3 separate regions of the Homo sapiens genome follow, and regions 1 and 3 are each linked to region 2. The links are contacts of gene promoters, found by promoter capture Hi-C in blood cells and fetal thymus (Javierre and others, 2016). All regions are on one chromosome and are shown on one strand. The core of a region is centred on a gene start or on the middle of the fragment in contact, and the rest is flanking DNA. Distances in the headings are between cores, read along the strand shown. Region 1 holds the start of RNF19B (ring finger protein 19B). Region 2 holds the start of PHC2 (polyhomeotic homolog 2). Region 3 overlaps AZIN2 (antizyme inhibitor 2).

The links. Contacts are between HindIII fragments. The CHiCAGO score rates a contact against its expected background, and 5 or more counts as called.
Region 1: a contact is called between the fragment with the promoter of RNF19B here and the fragment with the promoter of PHC2 in region 2, in 9 of 17 cell types (fetal thymus, naive CD4 T cells, naive B cells and 6 more). The highest score is 7.8, in fetal thymus.
Region 3: a contact is called between a fragment that was not itself captured here and the fragment with the promoter of PHC2 in region 2, in 1 of 17 cell types (endothelial precursors). The highest score is 6.5, in endothelial precursors.

What each region holds. Positions count from the first base shown.
Region 1 is chr1:32,963,112-32,967,440 of GRCh38, forward strand. It overlaps RNF19B (ring finger protein 19B), which reads right to left and starts at 1,698. Exons shown (of 9, transcript NM_001300826.2): 1 at 940-1,698. The coding sequence starts at 1,574. RefSeq lists silencers at 843-1,052, 1,413-1,982 and an enhancer at 1,293-1,797. The HindIII fragment of the contact is 3,974 bases long and covers 1-2,653 here.
Region 2 is chr1:33,429,702-33,434,115 of GRCh38, forward strand. It overlaps PHC2 (polyhomeotic homolog 2), which reads right to left and starts at 1,394. Exons shown (of 15, transcript NM_001385109.1): 1 at 1,275-1,394. RefSeq lists a silencer at 1,078-1,597. The HindIII fragment of the contact is 9,079 bases long and covers 279-4,414 here.
Region 3 is chr1:33,113,258-33,117,430 of GRCh38, forward strand. All of the region lies in intron 10 of AZIN2 (antizyme inhibitor 2), which reads left to right. Among named protein-coding and RNA genes, the nearest start is that of AZIN2, 34 kb to the left of the region's middle. The HindIII fragment of the contact is 1,356 bases long and covers 2,106-3,461 here.

The DNA of each region.
Region 1 (4,329 bases), core at 448-2,947, 470 kb before region 2:
CCCCATTGAGACTCTGGACAAAGAACATATCTGTCTACCCCTCACCCTACCCAAGGCAGCAAGGTAAGAACGACAGAGTGCCTCCCGATAGCGTGGCACAGAACACATAGTGCTCAGGGTACCCGAGAGCCTATTCCCCAGTCACCTCCATCCCAACTTTCAGCGGTGGTTGTCAGGGAGAACACGCCTTCTTCTGCAATGCTAAGTCTGTCCCTAGCCAAGTGGACACACCCCTCCGACGCGCTGCCCCCTCAGAATATTCTCATTCCCTCCTTGGCCAAATATCCCCTCCCCACTCTCATTAAGAGATACTCCCCACCTTGGCCGGGAGCGGTGGCTCACGCCTGTAATCCCAGCACTTTGGGAGGCCGAGGCAGGAGGATCACCTGAGGTCAGGAGTTCGAGACCAGCCTAGCCAACATGGTGAAACCCCATCTCTACTAAAAATACAAAGAAATTAGCCGGGTGTGGTGGCGGGCGCCTGTAATCCCAGCTACTCGGGAGGCTGAGGCAGGAGAATCGCTTGAACCTGAGAGGCGGAGGTTGCAGTGAGCCGAGATCGCGCCATTGCACTCCAGCCTGGGCGGCAGGGCGAGACTCCGTCTCCAAAAAAAAAAAGAAAAAAAAAAAAAGATACTGTCCTCACCTCCGGACAGAGGGCATTCCCCCAACAAAAAAACCGCCTCTCCCTGTCTCCTAACTTGGACAGCTCCCTTCCCCTCACCGAATGCTTAGCAGCCACCTCGAGCCCTGGGGCAGGGGGCGGGGTGTCGGGTGCGTTCACACCACTAGTCTGGGCTTGCCTGATGGTTACCACCCCGCCGAAGCTGCCGCCTTGCGGGTTTCCCTGCTTGGGACACCCACGCGGGGTCCCTGCTGCCCCCAGCCACGCCCCTCGGCTGCAGCCCGCCGCCACCCGCGCCACGCCCCCGCGCTCACCCGCAGTCCGGGGCCGGGCACCAGCGGCAGTCGGGGTCCGAGGCTAGGTAGCGGCGCAGCATGAACTCCTCGTACTTGTGCATAAGCGGCGGGTCGGCGAGCAGCAAGCGGATGTCGTGCGGGTTGAGTCGCTCGCTGCACTCGGGGCAGCTGATGGGCACCCTGCTCTCGCTTATCTCCAGGCGCAGGTAGTGGCGGAGGCAGTCCCGGCACGAGCGGTGCGGACAGCTGAGGAGGCGCGGGGCCCGCTCAGGCGGCAGCCGCACCAGGCACAGCGGACACTCCACCTCCTCCGCGCCCGGGCCACCGCCCTCCGCCGCCTCCTCATCGTCGAACCCAGGCTCCGCCGCCGCCGCCGCGGCCTCCGCCTCGGCCTCGGCGGCCGGCTCGGCGGGCAGCGCCTCGGGCGGCGGGCCCTGGGCCGCGGCAGGGGCCGGGGCGGGCGGCGGCTGCGCAGCCGGGGGCGGCGGCTCGGCCTGCGGCTTGGCCCGGGCGCGGCGGCCGCGGGCCGAGGCAGAGAAGACGCTGTGCAAGGTGAGGCGCCGGCGCCGGCCGCCGCTGCGGCACTTAGGGTCGGGTGCGGCCGCATGTAGCGATGTGGAGCGCGGCGACTCGGAGTCCTTCTCGGAGCCCATGGCCGGCAGAGGCCGAGGAGCCAGGGGCGCCCAGCGCCGCCACAGCTCCCGCCTCAGCGCCCCTCAGCCAGCGCCCGGCCGCCGCCGACGCCGCCACCACCGCCTCAACCGCCCTCCCGGCGATAGAAGCCGAGCGGCAACGACGAAGTGATTATAAAGCCTCCGCCCCGCGCGCCGCTGCCCTGCGCAGGCGCTTCGCTCAAACACCTCACAACCCTTGCGCCCCGGTCTAGGAGTGCGCTGGGCAGGGCCGAGCGGGGTGGGGCCGAGCGAGCTGGGGCGGAGCTCCGCCTCCTGCCGGTCAGGTGGTTCCAGGGCCGCCATGTTGCGGAGACTCTCAGAGATCCTAGCCCGCTGCTCTCCCTGGTCTCCGCCTCCAATTCCATCACCATGACACCCAAGGTGGACTTTTTGGTTTGCCGTTCCTCACAGGTTGATTGCCACTTCCAGTAAATGATGGTTCAGTTACATTATTTATAAAAAGCAGGCAGGGGTTGATCAGATGGTGACTCCCAACTGGTTCACCTTCCAACATTTCTGTTTATTAAGCAGACGGCATAAATTAATAAAGAATATATTCATTCACTGAGCTTCTACAAAGTGCGAGGCATTAGAAAATAAAACAGACAAGGTCCCCTATTGCAAGGGACTTCCAGAATAAAGTCCAAATTTCTTAGTCTAGCATTCAGTGTTCTCTATGTATTTAATAAACCCTATGTATATAATAGTCTATTTCTAGGCTCACTTACCATTCTATCCTCCTGGTATCTTGCTTACTTACCAAACTTGTGGAAGGAGACCCAGCGTTTTCTTGCCTGGCAGTGCCTTTGCCTTTCTTTTTCTAGTTCCCCATTCCTCTGACTGGGGGAGGATCTGGACCCTTAGGCTTCCTAGTGGGAGGCAGGCAAACAGCTTCAACAACAGGAATGTATCAGGATTACATTCAATTGCAAATAACAAAAGAAAAAAATAGCTTACGATTGAAATTTATTTATTTTTTTTCCTGAGACGGTTTTGCTCTGTCACCCAGGTTGGAGTGCAGTGGCGTGATCACAGCTCACTGAAGCCTCAACCTCCCAAGCTTAAGCGATCCTCCCACCCCAACCTCTGGAGTAGCTGGGAGCACAGGTGCGCCACCAGGCCTGCCTATTATTTTTATTTTTTTCATGGAGATGAAATCTCCCTGTGTTGCTCAGGCTGGTCTCGAGCTCCTGGGCTCAAGCGATCCTCCTGCCTTGGCCTCTCAAAGTGCTGGGATTACAGGCATGAGCCGCTGCACCTAGCCAGAAATTTCTCTCTTTCCATGAAATATAAGTCCAAAAGTAGGCAGTTCAGGGCTGTTCAGCCATCCTCAGTATTTGGCTTCCAGTGTTAAGGTCACCTCACTATGGTCCATATTCCAAACAGTGGGAAGGAAAAAGGGAAGAAAGATGCATCCTCTTCCTTTTAAGAAGACTGCCTTGGGGCTGGGCGCGGAGGCTCACGCCTGTAATCCCAGCACTTTGGGAGGCCCAGGCTGGCGGATCACGAGGTCAGGAGATGGAGACCATCCTGGCTAACACAGTGAAATCCCGTCTCTACTAAAAATATAAAAAATTAGCCGGGCGTGGTGGCGGGCGCCTGTAATCCCAGCAACTCGAGAGGCTGAGGCAGGAGAATGGCGTGAACCCAGGAGGCGGAGGTTGCAGTGAGCCGAGATCGCGCCGCTGCACTCCATCCTGGGCGACAGAGCGAGACTCTGTCTCAAAAAAAAAAAAAAAAGAAAAAGAAAAAGAAAGAAAGAAAAAAGGACTGCCTCGAAAGTCCCGCACATTTTTGCCAAAACATACTCACTCACATGGCCATACTCAGCTGCAAGGGAGCCTGGGAAACATTCTCTTAACTGGGTACAATGTGCCCAGCTAACAATGAGTGCTCTGTTATTAATAAGGAATGGTAAGATGGGCCAGGAGCTGTGGCTCGCACCTGTAATTACAACACTTTGGGAGACCTAGGCTGGTGAATCTCTTAAGCCCAGGAGTTTGAGACCAGCTTGAGCAACATGGCAAAACCCCATCTCTACAAAAAATACAAAAATTATCTGGGTGTGATGGAGTGTGCCTGTAGTCCCCGCTACTTGGGAGACTGAGGTGGGAGGAATGCTTGAGCCTGGGAGGTTGAGACTGCAGTGAGCCGTGATTATGCCACTGCACTCCAGCCTGGGTGACACAAAAAGACATCGTCTCAAAAGGTGGAAACCAGCTGTGATATTTTAAACCAGGTCTCCAGAACTTCAAACTTTTGACATAAAACAAGAAGGGGAGCCAACAAAGAAAACTGAAAAGCGGGGGCCAGTGACATAAAAGAAAAACTAAGCAGGCATGATGTCACAGACACCAACATAGTATGTTCCCAGAAGGGAGTGGTCAATTGTGACAAATGCTGCTGAGAAATCAAGAAAGATAAGAACAGAGATGTGACCACTGGATTTGGCAACACCAAAGAGTCCTAAAGGAGGGGGAGAGTTTAATCCTCAAATAGGAAGGAGGTTTGATGCTGGATGGCTAAAACAACAATTAATGTCTATATTTATCTGGCAGAATAGGCTAGACTTGGCTATGGTAACAAACAAGCCAAATTTCTCAATGGCATAACACACAACAATGGTATATCTTTTCCACTCATGCAACGCTGGCTGTGGGTTAAGGCACTCTCCAGAGTAGCTCTCCTCAACTCTCCTGGGTAACTCAGAGATCCAGACTACTTCTCTCTTGGG
Region 2 (4,414 bases), core at 144-2,643:
CAAGACATAGCAGAGTGCCTGGCATATGCCAAGTATTTGTTGTTGGGTGATAAAAGACATCAAGAGCAACGTGGAAGTGGAATTTGCACTTCACTTGCAAAATCAAATTGGTTTCTGGTACTTTTCAATTGTAACCGCATTTTCTCTTGATTTAGAAGGAACGACTTTAGACTCACAAAAGAAACTCTATTGATATCACGGGCGCATTAGCCGATTTTTCATCCCCACTGGTGATAGAAATATTTTTTACCCCACACTTCCAAGAAACTCCCAGGGCAAGCTTAGTATCAGTGGCGCATCTCTCCTCCTACCATTTCTATTGTCGCAAAAGCTAAATTACACTGTGAGCCTAAAGCTGCCACCAGTCTTAGTGAATTGGGGGAGGGGGATAATTACAAGAAGACACTTCTGTAGCAGACCTGGGGAGGGGGGAAGATGAATTTAAACCTCGCCTTATAAGAAATTTGTTAGACACTCACGTAGAACAGCCGCTTCCTCCGTGTATGACAGACCCGATCCAGGTGTCCAGCAGCGACCTTTTCCCATGGGTGTCAGGTCATCACTCAGCACAGAAAACAAGGGACCAGCGCCTTTCTAGGGCATCCCTCCTTCTCCAACCTTGGGGCCCGCTTTTCCTTTAGACGACTGTTCTCTCCTCCCAGTTCCAGCAACCCCCGGTTCCCTCTGCTGGTGCCCCCCACGCCACGCTTGACTCTGGGCCGAAAGTGCCAGCGGCTGCGCTGTCACGCCGCGGCTGGGGAGCGGGCGCCCCGGTCAGGCCCGACGCCCGGGTCTCACCGCACTCTGCGGGACAAGCGGAGCAGGCGCAGGCCGCGCAAGACCACGGGCTGCCGCGGCGCGGGCCTCTCCGCAGGAGGGGGGTCGGTCCCCGGAGAAAGCGAGTCACTGACGGGACCTTGGCCCGTTCCCGTTCCGGTTCCCGTTCCCGGCAAGCCTCGGCCCCAGGCTCTCCGCAGCCCTCCTCGCTGCGCGTTCCCGGCCCGGGGGCGCCGCGCTCTGCCGGTCGCCGGCCGGGACTGCGGGCTCCCAGCGCGGGCCCCACGCCGCGGACCAGGGGTCAGGCCGCCTGCCGCCCGCCTGTCCGTGCCCATGGCAATGCCCCGCCCCGCGCGGCCCGTCCCGGCCGAGCGCTCCGGCCCGACCGTGACAGCTGGGTGCCCAAAGGGTTAAGCCGGCAGCGCGGCGGCCGGTGTCCCCCGCGCGCTGCCCGTCAGCCGCGAGCTGGCCCCAGCGCGCACGCGCCCGCCCGTTACCTGCGGTCGCCTCCGCGCTCCTCCTCCACCTGGCCGCTCTCTCCCGGGGGCCGCCCCTCAGCCCGCCCCCTCGGCTCGGCGCCGCGCACCCTGCTGGCTGCTCGGACGCTGCCCGCGGAGGAGGGGCGAGGGCGCTATTACCATATATTAGCATACCAGCGCGCGTCACGTGGCCGCTCCAGCCAATGGTCACCCTAGAAGGGCGGGGATTGGGCGGAACACGCCTTAGTGCTGCTCCCAGCCTGAACCGGTGGCCATGGCAACGGGCGGGTGGGCGGGGGAGTGGGGAGGTGCCGGAGCCCGGTGCCCCCGGGAGCATCTCCTCTACCTGAGCGCCACATGGCGACCACGCGCAGTTTTCCCACCTTGCGGATGGAGAGATTTGTCTCAGCCAGAGAGATCCAGATTCAGCCAACATTTATTGAGCACTTACCACGTGCCTTAACACTTTGCTGCAGAAAGTGATGTCTGTCCTATTAACCCCACTAGATAGTAGGGAAAGTGGAGGCTCAGAGAGGTTAGATCATTCGCTCAAGATCATACAACAACATTAAATGGCAAAAGTGGAGATCTAAGATCATTTTTGACTTCAGACCCGGGACAATCGCCAGTTTTTTCAAATCCAGCAGGGGTCTCCTAGCACCTCCTCACAATTTCAGGTGTGCTGTGCAGTTGAGAAAATCCTTGTACATAATTTGTACAGCGTTTTACTGTTTCCTTACAGTGACCTTTGAGATTAATAGGCAGAATAGTTATGCCTGTATTACAAAGGAGAGAAAATGAGGCTCAGAGAGGCCATGTGACATAATTTAGGTCAAACAGCTATTAAGAGCTAATGCTGAGTTACACTGATTTATACTGAAGCTCATTACTTTAGAAACTTTTAAATTCAGTCTTCTCAACATGGTGGAATTACTGTGACCATTCTATGGATTAAGAAACCGAGACTTTGGGAAGTTAAGCAAATTGCCCAACGTTATACAGCTAGTAAGTAGCAGATTTAGGGTTCAAATCCAGGTTTATCTGGCCCCCAAAGCTAGTCTCATTGTATCAGATTTATTTAATTTAGGATTGGACTTAGAATCCCTTCTCTAATAGAATTTTGTCTCCTCTCAAGATATGATGGTGTTACGTCTTAATCCCACAGCAAATATACCTTGTGACAAGTGACATGTGTTAAGGTCACAGAGGCTATATATTAAGAGAATAGAGTCACCAGGTAGGTAAGGGGCACTGTAGAATTCTCTGTCTTTCCTTTGTTTTTTGTTTTTTTTTGTTTGTCTGTTTTTTGTTTTTTGTTTTTTTTGAGTCCGATCTCGCTCTTGTCACCCAGACTGGAGTGCAATGGTGCGATCTTGGCTCACTGCAACCTCTGCCTGCTGGATTCAAGCTATTCTCCTGACTCAGCCTCCTGAGTAGCTGGGATTACAGGCATCTGCCACCACACCCGGCTAATTTTTGTACTTTTAGTAGAGACAGGGTTTCGCCTTGTTGGCCAGGCTGGTCTCGAACTCCTGACCTCAGGTGATCTGCCCGCCTTGGCCTCCCAAAGTGCTGGGATTACAGGCATAAGCCACCGCGTCCGGCTTATGCCTGTCTTTCCATTTTTACCTTAGGGATTTGATAGTTTAGCTAAAGGCACAGTAGTTTAAAAACACAAACATCTGTGTACAGACTTGTTTAGCTCAGTGATTCTCTAATTTTATTTATTTATTTATTTTTTAGAGACAGAATTATGCTCTGTCATCCAGGCTGGAGTGCAGTGGTGTGATCATAGCTCACTATAACATTGAACTCCTGGGTTCAAGTGATCCTCCTGCCTCAGCCTCCCGAGGAGTAGCTGTGACTACAGGCATGCACCCCAACACCCGGGTAATTGTTATGTTGCCCAGGTTTGTCTCGAACTTCTGGCCTCAAGCAATCTTCCTACTTGGGCTTCCCAAAACTCTGGGATTCACAGGTGTAAGCTACCACATCTGGCCATGGTTCTCTAACTTTAATATATTTATGGATTACTGGACAGGGCTCTGTGCCTCAAACTAAATGTGCTAAACTTTATAGACATTTAAAGGGATCATCAAAGGTAATTTTGAATATACGTACATTTCACCTTCCTAGACTGCTTTAAAACCCAATTTCCTCCTAAAACATGACTGGTGCTTAAGAGCACAAACATAGAAGCAGACCTGCTTGGGTTAAAAATCCTGACTTGGCCACTCATTGACTGTATGACCTTGGGAAAGTTACTTAAACTCTCTGTGCCTCAATTTCCTCATTTGTAAAATAGGATAGAAATGTTGTGAGAATTTAATGACTTACTGTATGTGTGTATATATATATACACACACTTAACTTCCCAAAGTCTCGGTTTCATATATATATATATATATAAACGTTTCATATATAGGCCCCGGCCCAAGGATAAACCCTCCATAATTGATAGCTAATGTCATTTTTGTTATTATCCCAGGAGTTTTCCTAGGAACAGACAACCCACATGTACACAATATCTCAAGGCTTCCTAGCTAGCTTTGGAATTCTGAAGCTGCCTTCCTTCCCTCGTGGCATATTAAACAGCCTGTTGTGCTGCTGAAGGCTTGTTATCTCTCCAAATGACATTCTCTCTTCTTGGGATCATAAATAATTCCTGCACTCAAAGGAACTGGTTTCTCTTGCACATCTCCTAGCACCAAATTACTGGAGTTGCTCCTTGCAGAAGGGGATCTTGACAAACAGTGGAGTCATAAGTCAGGCTCCTTGAAACACTTTTATGAGCGCCTTAATGAGGGAGATGAGCTGTCATCAGGAACTCATCCCATCCTTCCTGACCACAGGAAATGAGCTTTTTGTGCTCAAAAGGTTTCCAAAGCTGAGGCGCAAAGAGTTTTCAGGAAGTGGGCCAGGGATGAGAAGTTGTTGACTCAGAGAATCCCAGGGCTAAACAGCCCCCATCCTGCCATTCACCCTAGAGGGTCAAATGACTCATGGTCTTATTGCAGCAATAGCACCAAAGGGTGGTGTGTGTATGTGTGTGTGTGTGTTTGTGTGTGTGGTGTTAATCCTCCCCACTTCCCCATATGTGCACACTCCAACAGCCAACCTATTACCCCCTGACAAAAAGATACTGCAGAATAGAACAC
Region 3 (4,173 bases), core at 1,534-4,033, 320 kb before region 2:
GCGCCCAGCTGGTTTTATTATTTTTTTATTGTTTTATTTGAATAAGTATTACTGTGGCCCAAGTACATCCAAGAATGTAATAGCTTAATGCTTTCACTACTATTGTGAGTGAAAACTTTTCCCTGTGTTTTTGAGCTGAGATGCTGGCTTGCATTCTAAAATTCATTGATTTCCTCTAGTAACCACACCCACCCCCTTAAGATTTTCCAGGTGGGCAAATACGTTATCTGCAGTGTAATATTTTATTTCTTCATCTTCTATGTATTATGCTTTTTTGTTTCTTTTTTTCTGATAGCTATTGCTAGCATTTCTCATCATATATAAAATGGGAATGATGACAGAAAGCTTCAGACTTGGAATCAGAAGACATGGGTTTGAGACCTGGCTCTGCCATAGACCAGCTGAGTAACCTTAGGCAAAGCAAGCTACTTAATCTCTCTGAGCCTTGTTTCTCTAGTTTCTCCATTTGGAAAATGACAGGGCTGAACTTCAGTGTATCTCAATGAAGTCAGAGTTGGATCATTATTTAAAATAGTCTCTCTTCATTGTGGGGTTTTGTTTTGTCTGTAGTTTTAATAAAGAATAGATGCTACGGGCTACTTCATGGTATGTTGACATGTATTGGGAAAATTAAACTTGAACTGTAGATCTATATTTTCCATGTTATGAAGCCAGTGATTGACTTCTCTCCTGTTGTCTGCACCTTTCATTTTAGAGATAATATGACTGTGAATTTGGTTAGCTAAGATTTCATGTCAGGTTTTTGCCTATATATTCACAAGTGAGATTTTGGCCATAGGGTTTTTTTTTCTTTTTATCTCATTTTTGTCTTTTAAAATATTTTTGTACGAATTATTGATTTATTCTTTTCTTTTTTTTTTTGAGATGGAGTCCTGCTCTGTCACCCAGGCTGGAGTGCAGTGGTGCGATCTCAGCTCACTGAAACCTCCGTCCGGGTTCAAATGATTCGCCTGTGTCAGCCTCCTGAGTAGCTGAGATTACAGGCGCCTGCCACCATGCCTGGCTAATTTTTTTGTATTTTTAGTAGAGACAGGGCTTTACCATGTTGGCCAGACTGGATGATTTTTTTTTCTTTTCTTTTTTTTTTTTTTTTGAGATGGAGTCCCGCTCTGTCGCCCAGGCTGGAGTGCAGTGGCGCAATCTCGGCTCACTGCAAGCTCCACCTTCCGGGTTCACGCCATTCTCCTGCCTCAGCCTCCCAAGTAGCTGGGACTACAGGCGCCCGCCACCATGCCCGGCTAATTTTTTGTATTTTTAGTAGAGACGGGGTTTCACCGTGTTAGCCAGGATGGTCTCGATTTCCTGACCTCGTGATCCACCCACCTCAGCCTCCCAAAGTGCTGAGATTACAGGCATGAGCCACCGCGACCCGCCTTTTTTTTTTTTTTTTTTTTTGAGATGGAGTTTTGCTCTTGTCACCCAGGCTGGAGTGCAATGGCTGGATCTTGGCTCACTGCAACCTCTGCCTCCTAGGTTCAAGCGATTCTTCTGCCTCAGCCTCCTGAGTAGCTGGGATTACACGCCCAGCTAATTTTTGTATTTTTAGTAGCGACAGGGTTTTGCCATGTTGGCCAGGCTGGCCTCAAACTCCTGACCTCAAGTGATGCGCCCGTGTCCGCCTCCTAAAGTGCTGGGATTACAGGCGTGAGCCACCGCGCCCAGCCTATTGATTTATTCTTTAAAAGTTGAAGAATTATTTAGGGATTCCATCAAGGCCGTGCACCTTTTTCAATGTTTGACCTTGTTTTTTCTGTGGCTCTGTCAGACATATGTGCCTTTGAAGAAGGCAGCTAGGTGCAGCCAGGAGGCTCCTTGTCTGGGACTGCCCAGAGTTCTACTAACTCCCCCTAGAGCCTTGGGCAGGTCACCTTCCCTCTCTGAGTTTTCTCATCTGTAAAATGGGAATGCAATCATGCCACCTGCCTCCCAGATAAGGTATGAAGTGGTGGTGGTATGCTTTGTAAATGAGGAACCCCCTGCCCTCTCTCACAGAGGGGCCTAGTGGCTGGCAGACTGGGCATCTTGGATTTTTGCAGATGCTTGTCCATTTCCACTCAGACTTGTAAAAATAGCTGAGATTTACAAGCTTGTTGCCACAGCTTTTAGAATATTTATTTCACAGATTCCTTAAAAAAAAAAAAATAGGCTGGGTGCAGTGGCTCACACCTGCAATCTCAGTACTTTGGAAGGCCGAGGTGGCGGATCACCTGAGGTCAGGAGTTTGAGACCAGCCTGGCCAACATGGCAAAATCCTGTATCTACTAAAACTACAAAAATTAGCCAGGTGTGGTGGCCGGCACCTGTAATCTCAGCTACTCGGGAGGCTGAGACAGGAGAATCGCTGAACCCAGGAGGCAGAGGTTGCAGTGGGCTGAGATCACACCACTACACTCCAGCCTCGATGACAGAGTGAGACTCTGTCTCAAAAAAAAGTTAAATAGATACATAAATAGTAAAAGCGTAGCTTTGCATTATGTCATGTGAAGATTTAAAATCTTTTTTCACCTAATTTTTTAAAATTTACACCACTAATAACAAGTGAGGGAATGCTAACTTCTTATAATCCAAGGGTGCCTTTTCTCTTTACCATGGAAGAATCTTTAAAATTTATTTTCCCAAAGATCCTTGTAGATTCATTTATAGAGCATCCCCTCCACTCATCTTTAAACATTAGCTTAATGTTTTTCAATGAGTGGGGCTAAGGGAAATAATTCAGACCACTTGAGGTTAATTTTATTCATCAACAAAAAGTTTATAAACAAGAATGTTCAGTTATATGAACAAGGATATACAGTATTCCTTTGTCTCCCCTTCTTAGAATGGGAGCTTCATGACCACAGGAATTTTATTTTGTGTGTGTGTTTACTGCTGCATCTCCAGCTCCTAGATCACAGCCTGGCAATTAGTAGGTGCTCAATAAGTACTTGTTGAATGAATGAATTCCTGAAGATTGGATAGCTATCATTCTTAACTTACATAATGTACATATTTTTCTTTATTAATGGGACTAATAGCTTATTAACTTTTTATCAAATATATGAGCACTATTTCTGCTTATGGAAACTGCGACTTTTCTTTCTCAATTTTACTCATTCCTGCTCTGGCTAAGGTATTGAAACGCCTTTCCTTTTTTCTCTGCTGGTCTTCTCTGTTGCTTCCATCTATGCCCTTTGGATGGCTTCCATTCATATCCTTTTTCTCCCCTTTGTCATTCTTTCTCTTTCTCATCACTCATATATTCCCCATTCTTTAATTCATTTATTTAAAAATATTATTTGAATAAGCACCTAATGGATGCCAGCCTGCTAGGCATTGAGGAGATGGGGATGACAAGACCTACACATCCCCTGGGCTCATGGAATTTATAGTCTTCAGGGAAGACAGGCCTGAGCAGATATTTCACAAATATTTATGAATTATGGTAAATACTACGAAAGCAAAGCTTGAGGGAGCATGGAGCTTTAGGAAAGGCTTCCCTGAAGCCATTTTAGCTGAGATCTAAAGGAGAAATAGGAATTTGCAAATTTGGGGCCTCAGGGAATAGCATGGGGGAAAGTAGGAGGTATGGGAAGGGAAGTAGGGTTTACCTGGGGAGCCCAGAGCAACTGGAGTAACTGGAGCACAGCAAGTGCAGTGATGGGAGAAGAGGCCTCTCAGAGGGCACAGTCATCATCATCCACATTTCAGTGGTGACTCTAGGATCTGCCTGGCAAGATCCCTGCCTACACTGTGGCAAATGGCACTGATAACTTGGTTGTCCAGAGTCTGTTACAAATTTCTGGATTTGGAAATCATTTAAGAAAAAATCTTAAATTTTATGTCATTGGTAGTTGTGTCTTTGGGCAAGTCATTTAAGCTGTCAGAGCCTCCATTTTTCTGAAATGGGAGTAATTGTGTCTACTCTGTGGGGTCCTCTGTGACCTCTGCCAGGTCCCCCTGTGATTGTTGTTGGAAGTCCATCTTTCTCATTAGACTGAGGGCCTGAGGGAGGGTGAGTCTAGCCTGGTATACTGCTGGCTCCTGTTGTGGGGCCTGGCATGGAGTGAGGACATCTGGGAGGGCTTCATAGACGAGGGAGCCCCAGGGCTGGGCTCAGAAGACAGGCTAGATTTGAGGGTCGGGGAAGGGCTGTAGAGGTGTGGACATATCGAC